2 separate regions of the Homo sapiens genome follow, and region 2 is linked to region 1. The links are contacts of gene promoters, found by promoter capture Hi-C in blood cells and fetal thymus (Javierre and others, 2016). All regions are on one chromosome and are shown on one strand. The core of a region is centred on a gene start or on the middle of the fragment in contact, and the rest is flanking DNA. Distances in the headings are between cores, read along the strand shown. Region 1 holds the start of ILDR2 (immunoglobulin like domain containing receptor 2). Region 2 holds the start of RCSD1 (RCSD domain containing 1).

What was found. The method cuts DNA at HindIII sites, captures the fragments that hold promoters and counts their contacts. A CHiCAGO score of 5 or more calls a contact.
Region 2: the fragment with the promoter of RCSD1 here is called in contact with the fragment with the promoter of ILDR2 in region 1 in 4 of 17 cell types (fetal thymus, activated CD4 T cells, naive CD4 T cells and 1 more); the score reaches 12.6 in fetal thymus.

What each region holds. Positions count from the first base shown.
Region 1 is chr1:166,971,562-166,978,528 of GRCh38, forward strand. ILDR2 (immunoglobulin like domain containing receptor 2) reads right to left here and starts at 3,979. Exons shown (of 10, transcript NM_199351.3): 1 at 3,662-3,979. The coding sequence starts at 3,707. LOC124904449 (a long non-coding RNA gene) reads left to right here. Exons shown (of 3, transcript XR_007066714.1): 3 at 710-1,186. It also overlaps a transcript of MAEL not described here. RefSeq lists silencers at 3,829-3,878, 3,939-4,228, 4,349-4,398. The HindIII fragment of the contact is 7,595 bases long and covers 2,499-6,967 here.
Region 2 is chr1:167,626,639-167,633,379 of GRCh38, forward strand. It overlaps RCSD1 (RCSD domain containing 1), which reads left to right and starts at 3,594. Exons shown (of 7, transcript NM_052862.4): 1 at 3,594-3,791. The coding sequence starts at 3,786. RefSeq lists enhancers at 1,423-1,482, 1,563-1,732, 1,743-1,792, 4,311-4,380 and silencers at 3,451-3,530, 3,551-3,770. The HindIII fragment of the contact is 3,174 bases long and covers 2,017-5,190 here.

The DNA of each region.
Region 1 (6,967 bases), core at 2,729-5,228:
GCAATCCTCCCACTCAGGCCCTTGGGTAGCTGGGACTACAGGTGCAAGCCATCGTGCCCGGCTAATTTTTTTGTATTTTTTGTAGAGATGAGGTTTCACTGTGTTGTCCAGGTTGGTCTCAAACTCCTGGGCTCAAAGAGATCCACCTGCCTCAGCTTCCCAAAGTGCTGGGATTACAGGCATGAACAACTGTGCATAGCTGAAAACTTATTTGAATCACTGACTAGACTGACAACGCTTTGAGGGCAAGGACTATGTCTTTTAGTGCCTCATTCTCAGCACTTAGTATAATACTTAGAAATCACAGGAATTTAATATGTGCTTGTAGAATAGACAAACAAGTGAAATCAAAAGAAATGCTAATAAAGGGCCGGGCATGGTGGCTCACATCTGTAATCCCAGCACTTTGGAAGGCCAAGGAGGGCATATCACCTGGGGTTGGGAGTTTGAGACCCACGTAGCCAACATGGTGAAACCCCAACTCTACTAAAAATACAAAAATTAGCCAGGTGTGGTGGCGCGTGCCTATAATCCCAGCTACTTGGGAGGCTGAGGCACAAGAATTGCTTGAACCCAGGAGGCAGAGGTTGCAGTGAGCCGAGATGGTGCCAATGCACTCTGGCCTGGGTGACAGAGTGAGACTCTGTCTCTCAAAAAAAAAAAAGAAAAGAAAAAGAAATGCTAATTCATCAAGCAATCTTTGTCATAGAGATACCCAAAGAAGCCTCCAGGAAAACACATCGCTTGCTCCAGGAGTGTGTTCCCAGAGTGTCGACACAGCTCCAGCGTTTCTCACAGCCTCTGCTGCCAGGAAAGGATAAAACACCACCCATATTCAGGAACAAAGACAGAGTGAACCCTCCTTCAAGTCTTATTGCTAGATGGCACCTGTTGCTAAAATAGCAGCTGGTAAGCATTTTGTTTTGTTCAAAATAACAACAACAACAGCAACAATAACAAAACCAATATATTACAGGAAGCAACATCACAATGGCAATAAGGAATCACAAGGCTAAATATATAACAGGAAGACATACAGAATTTTAGTAATGAAAGACAAGGAAGAAGCTGCTAGAGCCTGGAGGAAAAAACTGAAGTGCTGATTAGAAATCGCTCAGCTTGCATTAAAAAAGAGAAACAGGAGGAGAAGGGAGAGGAGGAGAAATAGAGAGGGAGTGGGAGAGAGATGGTGGGGAGAGAAAGGGAGGGAGAGGAAGAATGAATGTGGTTTTTTTCCTGGCTCTCTGTCTCATTTTTAATCTGTTCTTCCCTGTCTCCCTTCCTTTCTACCACCCCCTCAAAAGAGAATTCATTGATTGGGCTGGACTAAAATTTCTCACCTTTCGTCTCATGGTTCTCTGTGAAGAATGAGTCTGAATTCATCTCCTCCTTGTCTGCTTCTGTCTCCTCCCTCCCCTCCCCAGCCGCCATTGTTTGCTCCTCTACTTTGCTGAGGCTGAGAGGCAGCTTGTCTGTCCACACCTCTGACAGCAGTGATGGGATGAGGAGAAAGCAGGAGCAGGGAGCAGAGGATGATCAATGGGATCCCAGGAGTCAGTCTCACTTTTGGAGCAAAGAATCCCCAGCCATCTGACAGCTGAGCTGGTCCTGATAACTAACCTGTTGCCTGATTCCAAGCAGAACAGCCTCTCCAGGTGCAGGTGGCAGAAGGCACAGACAAAGCCATCACCTCCCTCAAAACAAAAATAAAACAAAAAGCCCTCCAGCAAAAAGCCCAGAGAGGCAGCTTAGGAGAGGGCAAATGAGACTGGTCTGGAGTTTGAGAGAACTGGAATCTAGTCCCTAATCAATCATGAACGTGCTATGTGCATATTGCCTCTCTAGGACTCCATCTCTATAAACTGAGAGGGCTGAACTACAGTTCCTGTAGTACCCTCCAGTGATATGATTCCATTTCATAAAAAGCTGTGAGCCATCTAAAGAGAGCTCTATGTTTCCCTTCTTCTCTCACTCCCTGCAAACCCCCAGAGTACTTCTTTTAGGCAGACCCCAGCGTGTCTGTAAAGAGCACCTCTGACTCAGGGACCCCTCCCCCCCCCCCCCGATGCCTGGCTGACTTCAGTGCTGTTGTGATACAGGCTCAAGGACTAAGTGCCCTGAGAATATTGATAACCGAGAGTAGAGGCAGATTAAGGATGTGAAGAATCAGTGAGGGTGGGAGTGGAAGGCACTGGGAGGCCAGGGGAGCGGGGTGGCATGGATCAGCCAAACCCTGAAATTAGAGATGATTCATATCTGAATAATGTGGGAGGGATGAACTCAAAGCAGCCAAAAGAAGAGGCTAACTCTGCTGAGGATGCCTCCCCCAGCCTAAACCCAGCAGTGGGGCAACGGCAATGTTAGGGGCATTTCATTTGAAATGGGAAAAATATTTAGGCAATGAAGAATCTTATTCTGAAGCTAAGGGAAATGGGGTATTTGCCTTTTCTTGCTAAATGTATTTTACCCCCTTTACATGACTTGTTTTAGCTATTTTAAGCTTGTTCCCCTTTGCCTAGTGCCTTGATTTTGTCCAGATCTTCTGGCTGGTGATGCTAGAGGTGACAAAACTTCTCATGTGGTACTATTGTCCCTTTTCTCTCCTGCCTTCCACCCCCATCCTGTCCTCACCTTTCTGATCCCTTTTTCCATTTCTTCCATCATTCTGCCTCCACCTTGATTTGAATGGTTGCCTCTGACCCAGTCCAAGCTATCCAGACATTCCTCACCCCCATCCTACTCCCTTCAGCAGGGCTGCTTTGTGAATCTCTCAGGGCTGGCCACCCCAAGGCCCTGTATCCCTATGGGAATCGGAATCCTCATGTGGGGAAATAGGTTAAGAACAAGAGCATCTACTGACCCCAGCAGAATGGGGAGAAAGTTCACCAAAAAGGAGGGGAGGGCACAGAGGACCCAGCTAGACCAGTGACTTTGATGCTGGGGAGAAGCCCAATGCCTCTAAATCTCTCTGCAAATTATCTTTTAGGGAGCGGAGAGTGCACCTATTAGAAAGGCTCTTCTGCTTTCTAATTATCATTTGGGACCACTCCCCAAATGATACCAAGTAAGAGAGAGCCAGGCTCTAAACTCCACAACCAGTGAAGGTTCCATCCCCATCTTCTTCCCAACCTCCAGTTCCTTGCACCCTCCAGAGAGCCACAGAGAGAATGCCCTGGGTCCCCCTCCTTCTCTAGGGAAGAAATTAAGGAGACAGTCCTCTAGCCTCCACCTCCAGAAAACCAGTTCATTTAATTAATCAGCTCCCTCTGAGCTTCCTTTATTCCAGCCAGGCTTTTCACAAGACTCACAGCATTACAAACTCAGGATAAGACCGAAGGAGAACCGTTTTATGGAGGGGAAATGCATTCGAAAGAACAACCTCAGCGCCAATGAGTCAAACACCTGCATCTAGATGCGTCTCACTTGTCATTGGGCTTCTCCCCCGCCGCCCCCATCATTCTCTCTCTCTCTCTCTCACACACACACACACAAACACATACACAAACACACACGTTGCCCCCTCCCCCACTTTCCACCAGACCGCTAAGCAGCTTTAAACATGGTCAGTAAGGAGGAAAATGGGGGGGCGGGGGGCGCGGTGAGAACAGAACCACTACAGGAATATACAAAGTTATTCGTTTCTGTTGAAAAGGACTCTTACCTGTTAGCCAGAAGAGAGAAATCCACCTCAGCAAGACCCTATCCATCTTCCCCAACTTCCCAGCCGAATTACGGAGTGAGGAAAGTGGGAAATGGCTGGAACAGAAGGATCGCTGTCACCCCGCGGCAGCGGGCGGCGGCGGAGCGGCGGGCACCGGGCGTCCCTGGGCGCAGCGCCCGCCGGGCCGGCCGCGCAGGCGGGGCCGGGGGCTGGATCGCGCCGCCGGCTGAGCGCGCGCTGCCGCGGGCTTCCGGGGTCCGCGCAGCGCTCGGCGGCGCATCCGCATGCCCAGGCAGCGCGGCACGGGGCGAGCGTCTCCCCGCCGCAGAGCCCGCCGCGCGGGGGAGCTCGGCCGCCGCACCGCCTCCCGCGCCTCCGCCCCGCCGCCCGCTGCCGCGACTGCCAAAGTTTCTCGGTCACGTGCTGGCCCCCGGCGGCCCAAAGGTCAGCGTGGAGTGATTGAGGCCACGCGGAGAGAGGGGGTCTCTGGGTGGCAGGCAGCGAGAGGCGCGGGGGAGGCCGCCCCGCGGGCCGCGCCGAGCGGGGAGCGACCATCGCGGCTTCTCCCAGGGACGCCCGCGCTCGGGAACCCGGGCGAGAACGCTGGCTGGGGACTCGAGCAGGGGAGCCTGTGTCTGCGGGCAGCCACAGCCAACCTGAACGGGGAGAGAGTGACAGCGGCGAGGGTGGGGGACGGCGGGGACTTGGCGTAACTTCTTACAGGACTTAACTAGCAAGTCCTCTAGGCTAGAATGTTCGCTTCTGCGGTACCCCCGCCCCTCCGTCTGGTTTCCTTTTTGACAGTGCAAGGAACCAGGCAAGAGGCTCCGCAGAATTGAAAAAGGTAGGCGGGAATCTCGCGTCATTACTTTTTCCTGTTAAAATATGAGGTAGAATAAGGGCATCCGGCCCTTTAACAGAAAATATGTAAAACCAGAATGAGATAAATGATTATAACGGCTTAAATCCATCCAACACTTTATAGATTCCAGCACGCATTCACATGGATTATTCCTATTTGTCAGACGGATTTGTCTTGTGTCTCAAAATGTATGTGTTGAGAGAGAACTGAGAAATGTATGATTTGCTTAAGAAATATATTTATGAAGCCTCTACTAGGTGCTAAGAACTAAGGTTACAAAGTGGAATGAGATAGACTTCCTGCCCTTAGGAGCCTCATCTTGGGTCGAGGAAAGGGAGGAAGGTCAGACCATTAAAGACATGATACTTATTCCTAGTAAAACGGGGCAAGTGCAATAATGGAGACATAGAGAAAGTGCCTTGGGAACATAGAGGAAGGACTAAGTTAGTCGTGGGTGGGGAGGGGGCACCACGATAAAGGAGGGGTAACATCTGAGCTGGCATTTGCAGAAAGCACAAGATTTGAGCCATTCAAGGATCCCTGGTGGAAAGGGGGCAGGCGAGGGCATTCTGGGCAGAGGAAAGAGACATAGCAGAAAGGTCTCAAGTAGCATCTGAAAACAGAGTGGTGCCAGGCTGGAGGGGAGTTCCTGGAGCAGACAGACTCCACACCTAAGAGTGAATGTGTACACAGACAGGGAGAATATGTATGTGAACATGTGAGAAATGGGAAGAATAGACCCTGGGCAGCTGTCTTTTATGGCTGCCTGACATCTCAATTCCCTTCTTATTCTGAGAAATTCCAACTGCAGAAGCCAGAAAGTCTAGAGCCACCTCCCTGACCATCCCAGCTGGAATGCAGGCCCGGGCCCCTGGCATAGCCAGGCTGACCTCTCCCTCAGAGCTTTTTGATTCTGGAGCAAGTGGTGGATATAAGAAACAAGGACAGTGGAGAATTGATTTTGTCACTGAGGCAGCAGCAGCATCCAGTGTACATGATCAGCTGTGGCAGAGGTCAAGCCACCAGGATGCTCCAAGGTGTGATTTTTGGCTGTGGTCTTGCAGGCTCTCTGGGTTCTAGCCTCTCTTCTACACTTGGCTCTTCACTTCCCCAGCAATTCTTTGAGCCACCCAATATCCTTTCATAAACTCTTTCTTTGCTTATTTTGGCCAGGATGATTTTTTCATGCTATGTACTGCATGAGAGAAATTTGAGGACTATTTCCTTTCATATACAGAAAAATAAAAATATAGGAGGTACCTAACACTTGTGGGTTTCCTTTAGGTTCTAGGCAGAGTTCTACATGTTTAACAAACCTTCTCATTTAACCCTAAAGAGGGAACTTAGGCCCAGAGCATTTAACTAACTTCTCTAAGATCAGGCAACTAGTAAGTGGCAGAGCTAGGATTTGAATCTGACTCTAAAGCATATACTGTTTGCACCACAAAAAGAACATCTACACCAGAAGATTGAGATGATATATTTGTATTATGCTGTGCCATTTACTGCATCTATGTGTGTGTGTCACAGTGCACAAAAGAGCTTGAATAGTGTTTATTATCTAAGCACACATAACAGTGGCATTTTGGCCAGGTGCAGTGGCTCACACCTGTAATCTCAGCACTTCGGGAAGCTGAGGTGGGCGGATTGCTTGAGCTCAGGAATTTGACCAGCCTGAGTAACATGGTGAAACCCCATCTCTACAAAAAATACAAAAATTGCCAGGCGTGGTTGTACATACCTGTAGTCCCAGCTACTCTGGAGGCTAAGATGGGAGGACCACTTGAACCTGGGAGGTTGAGGCTGCAGTGAGCTGTGACCACGCTACTGGACTCCAGCCTGGGTGACAGAGTGAGACCCTGTCTCAAAAAAAATGGCATTTTATGCAAAACTTGGACATATGAGCAAGTTTATACATGTGAAAAATGGGAGATGGACTGAGTGAAGGAAGCCTGGATGTGTATATGAAGTGGAACGTGAATGCCCACAGAAATGAACTCATGTCTGCTCAGAGGAGGTGTCTGTGTAGTTGAATCAGGAGACTTGGAGAAGAGCTTGTGCCACAATGAATCATAGAATGCAGTTGCCTTGTCCATCATCCCAGAAATGTGTTTTCCATGTAGTGCCCTGCATGTCTACTTTATAGCCAGAGAGGTACACATGGTGTATCCTGAATCTTCCTGAGTGAGTGGCGCCCAGGCCATCCTGAAGGGGATGCTAAACTGGAGTGAATCACAATGTGTGCCCCTCCATCACCTTGCACATGTTGTTACCAAGGTGATGAAGGGTTAATATAAATTTTGAAATATATGTAATGATTCAAAACATGTAGCCTAAGGGATGGAGGTGGAAAGAGGATGGGAAAATGGTGTTATTTTGCCATATTGGTGGTGGGTGATGGGATATGGCACCCAGAGTCCCAATGTGGTTTCTGAACTTCCAGT
Region 2 (6,741 bases), core at 2,344-4,843, 650 kb after region 1:
TGCTTGAAAGCTAATTAAGTTACTACTTATTGTGGCCTTTCATGATCTTTTCTCCCACTGGGTCCTTATTTCCATGGGAGACCCATCTCTGAAAGACTCTGTCTCTGACTTAAAGGGAAAGATCCTAATTTGCTTCACTTGTTCATTCATTCACGCACATATTCGCCAAATTATTTTTATTTTACTTTATTTTTTTAGAGACAAGGTCTTGTTCTGTTGCCAAGGATAGAGTGCTCACTGCAGCCTTGAACTCCTGGGCTCAAACCATCCTCCACCTCCCAAAGCACTGGGATTACAGGTGTGAGCTACCACCTGGCCTCATTCACTAAATATTTATTGAGGGCCTTCTATATGCCTGGCTCCTCCCCATACCTCCCCATACGCCCCTCCCTTGGCTGAGCTGTATCTCTGGTGTTCTTGTTTTTTTATTTTTTGTTTTTTTTTTTTTTTTTAGATGGAGTCTCACTCTGTTGCCCAGGCTGGAGTGCAGCTGCACGATCTCGGCTCACTGCAACCTCTGCCTTGTGGGTTCAAGCAATTCACTTGCCTGAGCCTCCTAAGTAGCTGGGATTACAGGCACATGCCACCACGCCCAGCTAATTTTTGTATTTTTAGTAGAGACGGGGTTTTGCCATGTTGGCCAGGCTGGTCTCAAACTCCTGACCTCGTGATCCGCCTGCCTCGGCCTCCCAAAGTGCTGGGATTATAGGCGTGAGCTACTGCACCTGGCCTTTTTTTTTTTTTTTGTCGGAGTCTTGGCTCTGTCACCCAGGCTGGAGTGCAGTGGCAAGAATTTGGCTCACTGCAACCTCTGCCCCCCAGGTTCAAGCAATTCTTCTGCCTCAGCCTCCCGCGTAGCTGAGATTACAGGCACACGCCACCATGCCCAGCTAATTTTTGTATTTTTTTAGTAGAGATGGGGTTTCACTATGTTGGCCAGGCTGGTCCCTAACTCCTGACCTTGTGATCCACCTGCCTCACCTCCCAAAGTTCTGGGATTACAGGCATGAGCCCAGCCTGGTGTTTTTATTGTTAGTTACCTGATGACCTCTACTTATTGCGTGGCTGGTTCTGGCTATCAGGATATATGAAGGGGAAGGCCCAGGGTAGACTGAAGGAAGTGGTTCCGTGTTAGCCAGCCAGACCTCCAGAGAGAGAGGGGAACCAACTCCTCGGAAAGTCACTTTCCCTTCCCCTTGGGCTGTTGTTTCCTCCCAGCCCCCAGAGCAGCCAGTTACAATCCCAGATAACCCAGCAAACCTGGGTGTTTATCAGCAGAGTTACTGCTATTCTGGCTCCTGGAGATCTTCTGTAGGGACAGAAGAAGAAGATAAGGGGAGTACACACACCACACCTACTCATGGCTGCCTAAACACAGCTCGGGGCTACCTCTTGGTCCCTCCCTCCCCGTTTTCCACCCCCTCCCTCAGGAGAAGTCCCAGTCTGGGGCCCAAATAGCTCTGGAGCAGCATTAAACTCTGCACTGGGGACCCAGGAGCATGGTGGAGGCCAAGCTTGTTTGCTTTGTGGTCATCTGTTCTCAGCCAAGAGAGGCCTAAGCAGGGCGTGGGGAGCAGCTGCAAGTCACCTTGGGTGACTGATGTTATCTAGGCCTAACGGTTTCCTCTGGGTAAGCACTTCCGCCCTCCTGTTTGTGAAGCCAGAAACCTGTGCTGGGGCAGCCCCATTCTGAGCACAAAGGAGGACTAGGTAGAGGGAGAAAGGAAAAGGCCCTGTGGAGCAGAGTTAGAAGACCTGATAGTAGACTATGCAGTCATCACTACGTCCTGCACCTTTAAAAAGAAAGGAAAGAAGCACGAGCAAAAGTGTGCCTTGCAGGTTACCAGTAAATACCCTTCCTTACTGCCGACTCTGCTCTCGAGTCTTCACCTGAGCAGCCATGTGGCTGGACTGGGAGGGGCCTCACTATTAATTCCTGGGAGTGAGGGCTCTTTTCACTGGGTCCCCGAGTGCCTGTCTCTAAATAAAAGAAATATCAGGCTCTTATTCATCTGAAGCTTGTACATGGGGCTAAGCATGATAAAAACAGCCACTTTTTGCAGAGTGCCTACTACATTGTATAGGTGAGGAAAATGAGAATCAGAGCAGTTAAGTGACTTGTCTAAAAAATACAACTAGAAAGTAGCAGAGCTGGAATTCAGCCCTCAATCTGTCTGTTCCTAAAACCAGGCGTCTTCCTCTATGCTTAGCTAAGCTAAAGAACTAGAAGCCACTCTGGCATTAGGGCTGCCAGTGTTTTAGAAAGTTGGGCCTTAGAAAGTTCTAGGACAGGAAGGAGGCCATATTTCTAAGACTGGTACCCAAAGCAGCAATCTAAGTGCCTGAAAGTGCAAAGATGGTGCCGGGATAACCAGAATCAGGGTAGTCTTTGTAGCAGGAGCAGACTCTCAGCCTTTTTTCTCTACTGTTTCTCCACATGTCTCTTCACAGTGCTCACCATCACCTGTCCCATTGCCCACCTCTGATGGGGCTCCCCTCCCCTGGTTGAGCTGGGGTTGGGCGGGTGAGAATGCTGTGGGATAACCCAGAGGCGTCATATACCCAGCCAATACCCTGGCACTCACAGGTCTCTCAAGGCATTTTCCTGTTTCTCTCTGCCGAAGGGTCTGAAGGGGGCCGGGATCCGGGTAGCAGGGAGTGACCCTGGTGCAGATTCCAGTCCCCGAATCCCTCCCATGCGGTCTCTGCTGCCCAGCCGGGATGGCCCTAAAGGAAGGTTGCTATGCTGGGCCCTATGGGAATCAGATGTTGAGCATCTTGCCCTTTGCTATATTTAACAGGAATGGAGACGAGGCCCTTTAGCAAGCAGCTTGTGGGAGCCAAAATTCCCACAAAACCGAATGCATCAGTCAAAGCAAGGTTTGAAGAAAAGATTTACCACTTCAGGGAGCTTGGAAAACTTTGCGTGGATTCCTGATTTTCCTCCTCCTCCTCCTCCTTCTACTCGTATACAGAAGATAGATGGATAGATGGATAGATAGTGGTTTCCTGGAAGGTGGAGAGGAAAAGAGGTGAGAAGGGAAAGGTGGTCCCGTCGGCGCCACGCTGAGCTCTGAAGCCTCGGTCAGAAGGGCTCCTCTTTTGGTAGAACACAAACGCCTTCCACCAGGGAGGGTCCTCGAACTCCACCCAAGAACTGCAGGGAAACCAGGTATGACAGTAATGCAATTTTAAAAAGAGGGAGAGGAAGAAGGAAAGCAGGAAGGATGGACACAAAAGAAGGAAATCGAAAAGAGAGGAAACAAAAAGAATTAAAGGACCACTCTAATTCTTGAAGGGACAGGAAAAAGAAAGAAGGCGCATTAAGGGAGGGAGACGTTGAGAAGGACTGAGACCGTGGCAAAGCCCAGGGTCCTGAGAAACTTCGCGAGACAGAGGGGCCCGGTGGCTGCCCATCCCCATGTTTGGGCACATGGAGTCGTGGCTCCCGCTCTTGAGTCCTGCCCTGGGAGGGACAGTATCTGTTTAGATTTGCGTCTAAATTTAAACCCTGATCGTCGGCCTCCCTCCCCGCTCCCCACCCTCCCCTCCCCTCCCCTTCCTCCCTCCCTCCCTCCTCCTCCTTCCTCGTTCTCTCGCGCAGGGCCCCCGCGGCCGGGGCAGTCCCGCAGCCGAGCGCAGCCGGGCGCGCGCCACCGCCCACTCGCCCTGTGCCCGCCGCAGCCCGAAACTGGCCACGGCCGGGAGCGGAGGGGACAGCGGGGATCGTGAGCTCCGGCCCGGGCGAGCGGGTGCGTCTGCCGCAGAGTCGGCACCTGAAGGACATGGAGGTAAAGGACCCCGGAGGGAGACGCGGGGCTGAGCGGTGAGCGGTGTATCGGGCGCCCCTTCCCCGGGCGGCTGCCCCTGCCCTGAGCATGGAGCACGCGGCTCATCGCTGCTGCCAACTAGAAGGGCAAATGCCTGCTGTTCCGACGCCTCCTTGACCAACTCCGAAGGATCGTCCCTGGTCCCACCTAGGACACCCGGGTTGGGAGGCTGGGGTTGGTAAGGAAAGATCTCAGAGGGAGAGAAAAGGGCTTTCCTAGAGGCCCGGGTATTTTGGCTAGGAACTTAAATGCTAAAAAAAAAAAAAAAAAAAAAAAAAAAAAAAAGTTAGGTGCAGCCAAGGTTTGTAAATGGGTAAACGTGTCAGCAAAAACTGCAAGAAGGCAGAAGCCCTTCAATCTGAAGAGATGGGTATTGAAAGAGAAACAGAACTGGCAACACGAGGCCAGCACGTCTTCGTGGGTCTGTGGGCTTCCCTTTTCGCTTTCGGAGTGGCATTTTAGAGAGTCCAGTTGTCTTCTTGCTTCTGAAGTCCTTCCTGTGTCTGTCGCATCTTCTTCCATAACTTTCTGAAAGCTCCCCTTACTGGTCAGTCGAATGACATTATTTCTGATAAAACTTAAGACTCCCTTGGACACCCTTGCCTCTGAAGCTGTGTGTATGGAGGTATGCTGGCCACATCTGCAGGCTTTGCCAGAGGGAGGCCCCGCACTTCTCTGCCTGCTGAGAGGAGGTCCGGGGACTTTCCTTGTTCTGTTCCAACCTCAGCAGAGGAGTGGTTGGGTGTATTCCCCACATCCCTCTCTTCTGCACATCTTGAGGCTTCCCTGTGTTTCCTCCTTGAAAATGAGACCTGATATGTAGCCCTAAGTCAATCTTAGTAGGACCTGGGGCTTTTGAGAAGATGCAAATGTTATATAGTTTTAAAGGTGATTCCCACTCATATTCAAAAGGAAACATGTGTTGCTCACTAGACTGTGGTCAGTGCAATCAGGATTCACAGTTAACTCCGCTATCTCTTCCCCGCTCCAGGCTCTGTGCCTGGGCCCTGGTGGTCTTTTTATTTTTTTCTTTTGAGACAGGGTCTCATTCTGTTACCCAGGCTGGAGTGCAGTGGCACAATCTCAGCTCACTGCAACCTCTGCCTCCCAGGCTCAAAGGATCCTCCCACCTCAGCCTCCCAAGTGGCTGGGACTACCAGTGTGTACCACCATGCCTGGCTAGTTTTAAAATTTTTTGTAGAGACAAGTTCTCACTATATTACCCATGCTGGTCTTGAACTCCTGGGCTCAAGTGATCCTCTAAGCCTTGGCCTCCCAAAGTGCTGGATTTGCAGGCATGAGCCACACCACTCCTGGCCCTGGTTGTGTTTTCTAAGCTAGACTCTGTGCTTGCCGGCAAAGCTTCATGACTTCTCTAAAGGGGCAATAAGTTTGTCCTTTAGAGAAGTCAGGGAGCTATATTCAGGCATCCAGCCCAGCCAGTTGTCTTCAAGGAACAGGGAATCACCTTCAAGGAGACTTTATAGACTGCAAGAACCACTGGAGTCTAATATGGACCCTCCACAGAAACATTTGCAAGGCCAGGAAGCTCTGGCAGATTAGGGCTGGCGGTGAGGCACGCACACAGCGAAGCTCAGCAGGTGGTGTGCACACATCCACCCAAAGATCACACAAACACAAAACAACAGGGTTCTCTCTGAGCTGGCCACTGCTTCAGGGCAGAGGAGGGAAATGGCCCAGGCAACACCCAGCTTCTTGGGTTGGGTGAAGTCTCCTTAAGAAATTGTTTTAGAAGTGGCTTCCCTCTTCTGGAAGTGTACAAACTGCCTTAGGCCCCAGGCTGCAGATTCACTATGATGTATGGCCTGTCTAACCTCTTGAAGAAAAGGATTGGAGATAAGAGAAAAGCAACTCTTAGACTTCAAGCAGGTTGCTGCTGGAGGGCCAAATGCAAGTGTCAACTTTGTTCTAGGAAAACAAGGAGGGTCTCCTTCCACAGAGGCAGTTTCTCCCCCCTCAGATGAGGAAGGAATAGTGTATGGCAGAGGCCCTGAAACTATCAGCTGAGCAACTTCCTGTGTGGCTTGGGGGGTGGAGGGGATTGCAGTAAAAGAGAAGGCCCTCCCTTATTGAGATGTGTAGTAACTTATGCAGGATTCCACCAAGATACCAAAATCACTCCCGTGCTAGGGTTTGGGAGGGACGCAGGGAGGGAATAGCTCAGCCAGCCAGAAGCCTGACAAATCACCCTGCGTCTCACATCCAGTAGGTCACTAAGCCTAGTCCATCAATTTGCTGGTTGGACAGTGGCTGCTTTTGAAGTTTCTTTGTCCAAATGCCTGGAAAACAAAAAACAACAAAAATGAAACAAACAAACAAAAAAACAACATGCAACTGCTAGTGAAGAAAGTAAAGAGGAAATCTAGGGGCCAGGGAAGTGACCATTCTTAGCCAGGAAGTAAACTTTTCATGGTGAAGCATGATATGCAGGAGTTGGATTTGGGGGTTTCTGAAAATCTCAGAGTAAAACCCTCTTTTGAGAGGTGAAACTCAGTTTTGGGACATGAAAGGGCTACTGTATCTGGAAAGAAATTAAGTTATATTACTTCTCAGTACTAGGAATCCAAACCAGACCAAAGAGGGTTACTCAATATTCATTCTCTAAAGCTCACGTATTATTGGAAGTCTTTGAGAGATCTTTTTTTAAAGTCACTGTTACCATTATCAACAACATCAATCTTCATCCCTCATAAAGCCCTGTGGAATAAACAAAGTATAGATGCCATCTGATCCCTGCCTTTTAAAAGCTCACAACCCAATAAAGGGACTATATCCTGTCACATATATAATCTTCAAATGCATAAATGCCAGTTGAATACTGCTGCAGATCATGAGTTCTGCAGGAGTTCAGACTAGATTAGGTTCAGAAGAAGCCTTGGAAGAAAGATGT